Linked DNA regions of Homo sapiens: all the other regions are linked to region 3. The links are contacts of gene promoters, found by promoter capture Hi-C in blood cells and fetal thymus (Javierre and others, 2016). All regions are on one chromosome and are shown on one strand. Each heading gives the region's core, a stretch centred on a gene start or on the middle of the fragment in contact. The rest is flanking DNA. Distances are from core to core; before and after follow the strand shown.

Evidence for each region. The method cuts DNA at HindIII sites, captures the fragments that hold promoters and counts their contacts. A CHiCAGO score of 5 or more calls a contact.
Region 1: a contact is called between a fragment that was not itself captured here and the fragment with the promoter of CIBAR1-DT in region 3, in 1 of 17 cell types (endothelial precursors). The highest score is 5.5, in endothelial precursors.
Region 2: a contact is called between a fragment that was not itself captured here and the fragment with the promoter of CIBAR1-DT in region 3, in 4 of 17 cell types (megakaryocytes, total CD8 T cells, naive B cells and 1 more). The highest score is 7.6, in megakaryocytes.

Annotation. Positions count from the first base shown.
Region 1 is chr8:93,994,046-93,996,745 of GRCh38, forward strand. No RefSeq gene overlaps it. Among named protein-coding and RNA genes, the nearest start is that of PDP1, 78 kb to the left of the region's middle. The HindIII fragment of the contact is 1,737 bases long and covers 437-2,173 here.
Region 2 is chr8:93,968,075-93,970,774 of GRCh38, forward strand. No RefSeq gene overlaps it. Among named protein-coding and RNA genes, the nearest start is that of PDP1, 53 kb to the left of the region's middle. RefSeq lists a silencer at 1,396-1,465 and an enhancer at 2,093-2,594. The HindIII fragment of the contact is 294 bases long and covers 1,127-1,420 here.
Region 3 is chr8:93,699,149-93,701,848 of GRCh38, forward strand. CIBAR1-DT (CIBAR1 divergent transcript) reads right to left here and starts at 1,285. Exons shown (of 11, transcript NR_033858.1): 1 at 788-1,285. CIBAR1 (CBY1 interacting BAR domain containing 1) reads left to right here and starts at 1,402. Exons shown (of 9, transcript NM_145269.5): 1 at 1,402-1,525; 2 at 2,076-2,310. The coding sequence starts at 1,500. RefSeq lists enhancers at 921-1,000, 1,030-1,654 and silencers at 1,221-1,270, 1,301-1,440, 1,631-1,750. The HindIII fragment of the contact is 5,458 bases long and covers 1-2,700 here.

The DNA.
Region 1 (2,700 bases), core at 55-2,554, 290 kb after region 3:
GAGTTTTGACATAAACATGATCTAGAAAGTAAAACTGCCTTAAAGATGAATTTAGCCTTGACTGACTTGATTGTTTGATTGATTTATCAACAGGGTAATTGGCAAAGCTAAGATATAATCACATATTTTATTGATTGATTCCTAAAATATGTTTCTTAAATTTTATGCATACTTAGCTGCTTGTGAGTTTTGACATAAACATGATCTAGAAAGCAAAACTGCCTTAAAGATGAATTTAGCCTTGACTGACTTGATTGTTTGATTGATTTATCAACAGGGTAATTGGCAAAGCTAAGATATAATCACATATTTTAATTTAGAAACAACACTTCTCACAAAGTCAACATCTTAAATCTTGTTTCTGAAGAAATTGGCACCAGGACAATGTCTTCTATTGGAATAAGTGTGGATGAGAAGCAGCATCATATGCCTGGAAAGCTTATGGGCTTTGAAGTCACAGACCTGATTATGACACTGGACTCCATTCATTTCTTCATTTATTTAAAAAAATCCATTCTGTGTGCCAGGCATTGTGAGTGAGGCATGGATGATGGTGAACAAAACTTGTGCTTCCTGCCCTTGTGGAGCTTCCAGTCTCATGACTTTACTCACTGTATGTCCTCAGGCAAGTTATAGTACTTCCCTGAGCTCCATTTTAACTGTAAATTATATAGGAATCAATACTAAAATGAGGTATTTTCTTCATAAGACTGATGAAAAATAAATAGCATGAAGCATCTGGTTCATGGCAAGGACTCAGTAAATACTGTGATTTACCTTGTTTAATTACATCAAGTCCAGCAGCAGAGGGCAGTAGCATCTCTGATGACCTCGAGTCTTAATAAAATCCCTGCAATTTGGCTTTTACCCTCCGAACCGTCCTCCCTAAATCTGCTGCCACAGTTTTCCCATAGCTGGTGACCTTGGTCGGCTTTGCTCAGGCTTCATCCTCTTCCAGCTCTTGGCTGAGCTCTTCACAGGACAATCATGGATTTCTGCTTGAAACCCTGCCTCCCTGGCTTCCCCAATTCTATTCTCTCTGTGTGCTCTTCTTTTTTTTTATTTTATTTTATTATTATTTTTTATTATTATTATACTTTAAGTTTTAGGGTACATGTGCACAACGTGCAGGTTTGTTACATATGTATACATGTGCCATGTTGGTGTGCTGCACCCATTAACTCGTCATTTAGCATTAGGTATATCTCCTAATGCTATCCCTCCCCCCTCCCCCGACTCCACAACAGTCCCCGGTGTGTGATGTTCCCCTTCCTGTATCTATGTGTTCTCATTGTTCAATTCCCACCTATGAGTGAGAACATGCGGTGTTTGGTTTTTTGTCCTTGCGATAGTTTGCTGAGAATGATGGCTTCCAGCTTCATCCATGTCCCTACAAACGACATGAACTCATCATTTTTTATGGCTGCATAGTATTCCATGGTGTATATGTGCCACATTTTCTTAATCCAGTCTATCATTGTTGGACATTTGGGTTGCTTCCAAGTCTTTGCTATTGTGAATAGTGCCGCAATAAATACCATTTGACCCAGCCATCCCATTACTGGCTATATACCCAAAGGATTATAAATCTGTATGCCCTTCTTACTTTCCAGCTTCTTTTCCTCCTTTTTGTCTTGCCCTCTCTTCCTTCCCCTCATCCCCTTAATGAGTATCATATCAATGCACATGGTACCCACATCTTCTTTACCAGCCAGGACCCTTCTTCTGCCCTCCCTTCCCATATATCCAGCATTCAGCAGGCCTCTCCACTGTGTCCCTTCATACCTCCAGCTGAATGCTTACAGAACTGATTCCATCCTCTCTTCAAAGGGCCTCCTTCCTCTTACTTTGAATCAGTAAGTCACTTAAGCTCTCAGACACCCTGATTAGAAAACTTGGAATCTTTTTGGACCCTGCTTATCCCACAGTTTCCACATTTAAGCAAGTTGTTGACTTGGCCTAATCTTCAGAATCTCTCTTCCCCTTCTCTTTCCCATCACCCTTGTGCAACCTCTCATGCCTCTTATTCAGACTACAGCAATGGCCCCCTAAAGGGGCCCTGCTCTTTCTCCATGCTGCCTCACTTACTGCTGTTAGGCTCAACTCTGTTCCTAAAGCACGGTTCTGATTACCTTACTTCCTTGCTAAAAACCATTCATTCCTGAGTCCTCCAAGCTTCAGTCTGGCACATCAGCAATTCTTTCCAATCTGACTTCAGCTGACATTTCTGTCTTATCTCTAACCCTCTCCCAACACTCTTGCAATTGACGGTCCAGTGGGGGGATCAACACTAATCCATCACCACACAAGCATGCATCTGTGAATTACAATAAGGACTCTGAATGAAAAGAAGATTATGCTGTCAGAACATAAAACTGAGAGCCTGATCTGGCCCATGCAAGCAGCTGATGAAAGGTTGGAGAGATGCAAACAGTGGGGGCATGCATGCAACTCAGAGGAGAGGTGGCAGGGCCTTAGAGAAGGTGCCTGATAGATTTTGATCTGTATCCCAAGAGCAATGGAAAGCCACTGGAGGGTTCTAAACCTGATGGGCAAGATTAGATTTACATCCTTAAAAGGTGGTTGCACAGCAGGTAAGCTCCCTGAGAAGGGGGGTCTCTGCTTTTCACACTTGGTAGCTCTCTGAGTGCCTGAAACAGGGTCTTCTAAGACAAGCACTCCATGAGGAGCAATTAAAGT
Region 2 (2,700 bases), core at 24-2,523, 270 kb after region 3:
TTCACTTATGAAGCTCAGTTTGGCTAGATATGAAATTCTGGGTTGAAAATTCTTTTCTTTAAGAATGTTGAATATTGGCCCCCACTGTCTTCTGGCTTGTAGGGTTTCTGTAGAGAGATCCACTGTTAGTCTGATGGGCTTCCCTTTGTAGGTAACTCGACCTTTCTCTCTGGCTGCCCTTAACATTTTTTCCTTCATTTCAACCTTGGTGAATCTGACAATTTCTTGAGGAATATCTTAGTGGTGTTCTCTGTATTTCCTGAATTTGAATGTTGGCCTGCCTTTCTAGGTTGGGGAAGTTATCCTGGATAATATCCTAAAGAGTGTTTCCCAACTTGGTTCCATTTTCCCCATCACTTTCAGGTACACCAATCAAATGTAGATTTGGTCTTTTCACATAGTCCCATATTTCTTGGAGGCTTTGTTCATTTCTTTTTACTCTTTTTTCTCTAACCTTGTCTTTTTGCTTTATTTCATTAATTTGATCTTCAGTCACTGATACCCTTTCTTCCACTTGACCGAATCAGCTATTGAAGCTTGTGCATGCATCACGAAGTTCTCGTGCCATGGTTTTCAGCTCCATCAGGTCATTTAAGGTCTTCTCTACACTGTTTATTCTAGTTAGCCATTCATCTAACCTTTTTTCAAGGTTTTTAGCTTCCTTGCTATGGGTTCAAACATGCTCCTTTAGCTCGGAGAAGTTTATTACTACTGACCTTCTGAAGCCTACTTCTGTCAACTCATCAAAGTCATTCTCCATCCAGCTTTGTTTTGTTGCTGGCAAGGAGCTGCAATCCTTTGGAGGAGAGGAGGTGCTCTGATTTTTACAATTTTCGGCTTTTCTGCTCTGGTTTCTTCCCATCTTTTTGTTTTTGTCTACCTTTGGTCTTTGATGTTGGTGACCTACAGGTGGGGTTTTGGTGTAGATGTCCTTTTTGTTGATGTTGATGCTATTCCTCTCTGTTTGTTAGTTTTCCTTTGAATAGTCGTGTCCCTCAGCTGCAGGTCTGTTGGAGTTTGCTGGAGGTCCACTCCAGAACCTGTTTGCCTGAGTATCACCAGCAGAGGCTGCAGAACAGCAAATATTGCAGAACAGCAAATACTGCTGCCTGATCCTTCCTCTGGAAGCTTCGTCCCAGAGGGGCACCTGCCTATATGAGGTGTCTGTCGGCCCCTACTGGGAGGTGTCTCCCAGTTAGGCTACATGGGGGTCAGAGACCCACTTAAGGAGGCAGTCTCTCCATTCTCAGAACTCAAATGCCATGTTGGGAGAACCACTGCTCTCTTCAGAGCTGTCAGACAGGGACGTTTAAGTCTGTAGAAGTTGTCTGCTGCCTTTTGTACAGCTAAGCCCTGCCCACTGAGATGGAGTCTAGATGCAGTAGGCCTTGCTGATCTGCGGTGGGCTCCGCCCTGTTCAAGCTTCCTGGCTGCTTTGTTTACATACTCAAGCCTCAGCAATGGTGGACGCCCCTCCTCCCACCAGCTCGTGCCTTGCAGGTCAATCTCAGACTGCTGTGCTAGCAGTGAGCAAGGCTCTGTGGGTGTGGGACCCACTCAGGCAGACATGGGAGAGAATCTCCTTGTCTGCCAGTTGTTAAGACCTTGGGAAAAGTGCAGTATTTAGGTGGGAGTGTCCCATTTTTCCAGGTACAGTCTGTCACAGCTTCCCTTGGATAGGAAAGGAAAGTCCCCTAACCCCTTGTGCTTCCCAGATGAGGTGAAGCCCTGCCCTGCTTCAGCTCACCCTCCGTGGGTTGCACCTACTGTCCAACTTGTCCCAGTGAGATGAACCAGGTACCTCAGTTGGAAATGCAGATATCACCCGTCTTCTGTGTTGATCACACTGGGAGCTGCAGACTGGAGCTGTTCCTATTCGGCCATCTTGGAACAGATCTCTAGTTTTATGTCTTACATTTAAGTCTTTAATCTATCTCGGGTTAATTTTTGTATATGGTGAAAGGTAGGGGTCCAGTTTCATTCCTCTATGTTTGGCTAGCCAGTTATGCCAGCACAATTTATTGAATAGAAAGGCCTTTCCCCATTGCTTGTCAACTTTGTTAAAGCAGATCATTTATTTTCATTGCCATATAGTATTCCATTGGGTGAATATCCTACCATTTATTTATCCAGTCTTGATTAATGGGCATTTGGATAATTTTCCATTTTTGCTTTTTTTTTTTGCCTTCAAGCATCTGTTTAACAAAGCACATCTTGCACCGCCCTTAATCCATTTAACCCTGAGTGGACACAGCACATGTTTCAGAGAGCAGGGGGTTGGGGGTAAGGTTATAGATTAACAGCATCCCAAGGCAGAAGAATTTTTCTTAGTACAGAACAAAATGGAGTCTCCCATGTCTACTTCTTTCTACACAGACACAGTAACAATCTGATCTCTCTTTCTTTTCCCCACATTTCCCCCTTTTCTATTCGACAAAACTGCCATCGTCATCATGGCCCGTTCTCAATGAGCTGTTGGGTACACCTCCCAGACGGGGTGGCGGCCAGGCAGAGGGGCTCCTCACTTCCCAGATGGGGTGGCTGGGCAGAGGTGCCCCCCACCTCCGAGATGGGGCAGTGGCCGGGCGGGGGCTGCCCCCCACCTCCCTCCTGGACAGGGCGGCTGGCCGGGCGGGGGCTGTGCCCCACCTCCTGGACGGGGCGGCTGCTGGGTGGAGGGGCTCCTCACTTCCCAGACGG
Region 3 (2,700 bases), core at 35-2,534:
AAACTTTTAATCAGCAGCACACGGCAGCGAGGAATACAAGACCAAAATCACATTTAATCTGTCTCAAAGGGTTCAAAGTCTAGGGTACAGGAGGCAGTACAAAATCAACGAAGTGTACTGTTTGAGCATTCCAACACTTCGCTCCTTCAGACAGTATTAGGACCCCGTCCCAAAGCGTTAGGACAAGGCCCTAACGCTGCCTGAAAAAGTGAAGTGACGGAGGATCCCAGAGAGGTTTCTTGAAGCAGATAAAGTCTGAATTGAGGCCGGGCCCGGTGGCTCACGCCTGGAATCCCAGCACTTTGGGAGGCTGAAGGGGGGCGGATCACTTGAGGCCAAGAGTTCAAGACCAGCCTGGCCAACATGGCGAAACCCCGTCTCTACTAAAAATACAAAAAATCAGGCCAGCATAGTGGTGCACGCCTGTAATCCCAGCTATTTGAGAGCCTGAGGCAGGAGAATCGCTTGAACCCAGGAGGCGGAGGTTGCAGTGAGCCGAGATTGTGCCACTACACTCCAGCCTGGGCAACAGAGCGAGACTCCATCTAAAATACATATATAAATAAACAAAGTCTGAATAGAGTCCTTGCAGTATTTACTGGGAAAAGCAGCACACGCAAGGCCAGGAGGGTCAAAGGGACAGAGGCGTTCAAAGGACAAAGGAGAGCCTCCTGTTTGTTTGGGGTTTTATTCTTTTTGAATTTTTGTTCCCCCAGGCCAACTCTAAGAGCCAGAACTGTTCGTTATTTATCTCAGCACAGGTTCGGTGTAAGCGTTGCCTCCTTACCCGACGCTCAGGCCCTTCAGGTCCGGGACCCCTGCTTCTTAATTATGTTTCTATTACTCCCAGTGTCTAACACAATCTCTTCCACGAAGTCGGAACTTGATACATATTTGCTGAATAAACGAAAAGTTAAAGATGAGGCAGAAAGCACAGCTCCTTCCAAGGGCAGCTCTCAAGAGCCCACGTTTTCAGATTCAGCAGTGAAGCGGACGCGTCTGGTACGAGACTACAAGTCGCACAGGCGGAGAGGGGGCCCCCGGGCCTCTGGTTTCACGTCTCCCTCCTGGTCCCCGGCGGACCGGCGTCTTTTCTCCCCTGCTCGGAGTAGCCTAGCAGCGCTGGAGGCTGGCTGTCTGGTAAGCGCGGCTGTTAGAGAGGATGGAGGCGCCGTAGCCCCGCGGTGCTTCTCACAGCCTTCGCCGGCAGGGACGCGCGGGACAACCGCGCAGGCGGCTCTGCAGGGGTGGGCGCGCCATCACCCCTCTCGGTCCCTGCCTGCTTGGCGCTTTCCGAGCCCCAGCCGCGCTCAGGCTGCCTCGGGCATTGACCGCGGGGGCGCGCGCCCCGTTTCCATAGAAACGCCCGGCCTGCCGCGGCGGCGCGAGGGGCGGGCTTTCAGGCTCCCGGCGGCTGCTTGCGCCCCAGCGCGCGCCCAGGCGCCTTGGAATCCCCGTCCTTGGGCCCCCGCAAGGTCCCCGGCCGTGCGCGAGGCAGCATGATGAGGCGCACCCTGGAAAACCGGTAACAGCCCGAGCCCAGCTGCCCAGGGCCGCCCACACTGGAGGGCTGGGGTGAGGGAAGTGGAAGCCTCTGTCCATGGGGCCTCTGCGCCGAATTCCGACCCTGAGTGGGAGGCTGCACGGTCCCCGCTGTGACCTGGGGCCTAATTCCTTGGGCTGCAGCCACCGCCGGCGGCGAAGAGGAGCCCGGGGCCCGGCCGGCTGCCACCCACCCACGCCACCGGGTCTCGGGTCCCCACACTGCCGCGGGCAGTGCGGAAGCCTAGGAGGCAGCCGGGCGCCCAGGCCGCGCTGCGCGGAGCAGCCGGAGCAGCCACCTCCCCAGTTAAGGCCAGGCCCACCCGGCCTGGGCCTTTTCCTGTGCCTACACAGTCCGGATAGTGAGGTCAGGACCCCATGGAGAGCAGTCCGCGCCGGGAGACGCTGGGTCGTTGATGGGTTTACGCCTTCAAAGCTGCAGAATGCCCGGGGAATGTTTGCATGTTAAATTAACGTGAAGCCTTCTCATCTCTAACGAGAATGTTTTGCCTTTTGTGTCACCTTTTCCCTAGGAACGCTCAAACGAAACAACTGCAAACAGCTGTCTCAAATGTGGAGAAGCATTTTGGAGAACTGTGCCAAATCTTCGCTGCCTATGTGCGGAAAACTGCCAGGCTGAGAGACAAAGCAGACCTCCTGGTGAATGAAATTAACGCGTATGCTGCTACAGAGACCCCGCATTTAAAGCTGGGCCTGATGAACTTTGCAGATGAGTTTGCCAAACTTCAGGATTATCGACAAGCAGAGGTATGGAGTGAGATCACAGTGTCATTGTTATGAATGAGCCATGAAGTAGTGGATGAAGGAACCGTGGAAACTTTCACTTGTAATCTACCTAACTGCAGAGGTGGATGCAAACTTGATAAAACGTACATTTTCATAAGACTGTGTGAGTCTATTAAAGAGAAGCGTTCTGTGTTTTATTTTACCCTTTTCAAGCTAACCTTTAGGGCATCTTGAGGTCTTGAATTTCCCCACTTTATTTGCCAACTTTTGGCCAAGGGGTGGCTGTTTACTGGGGGTAGTGGGAATAGTACCCAGGGGGAAGAAAATAAGCATAACTTAATGTCTTGTGTGGCACATAAGTACGTTTTAAAGAATGACTGGAGATGGAAATGTTGGGAATGGTAATGTGGA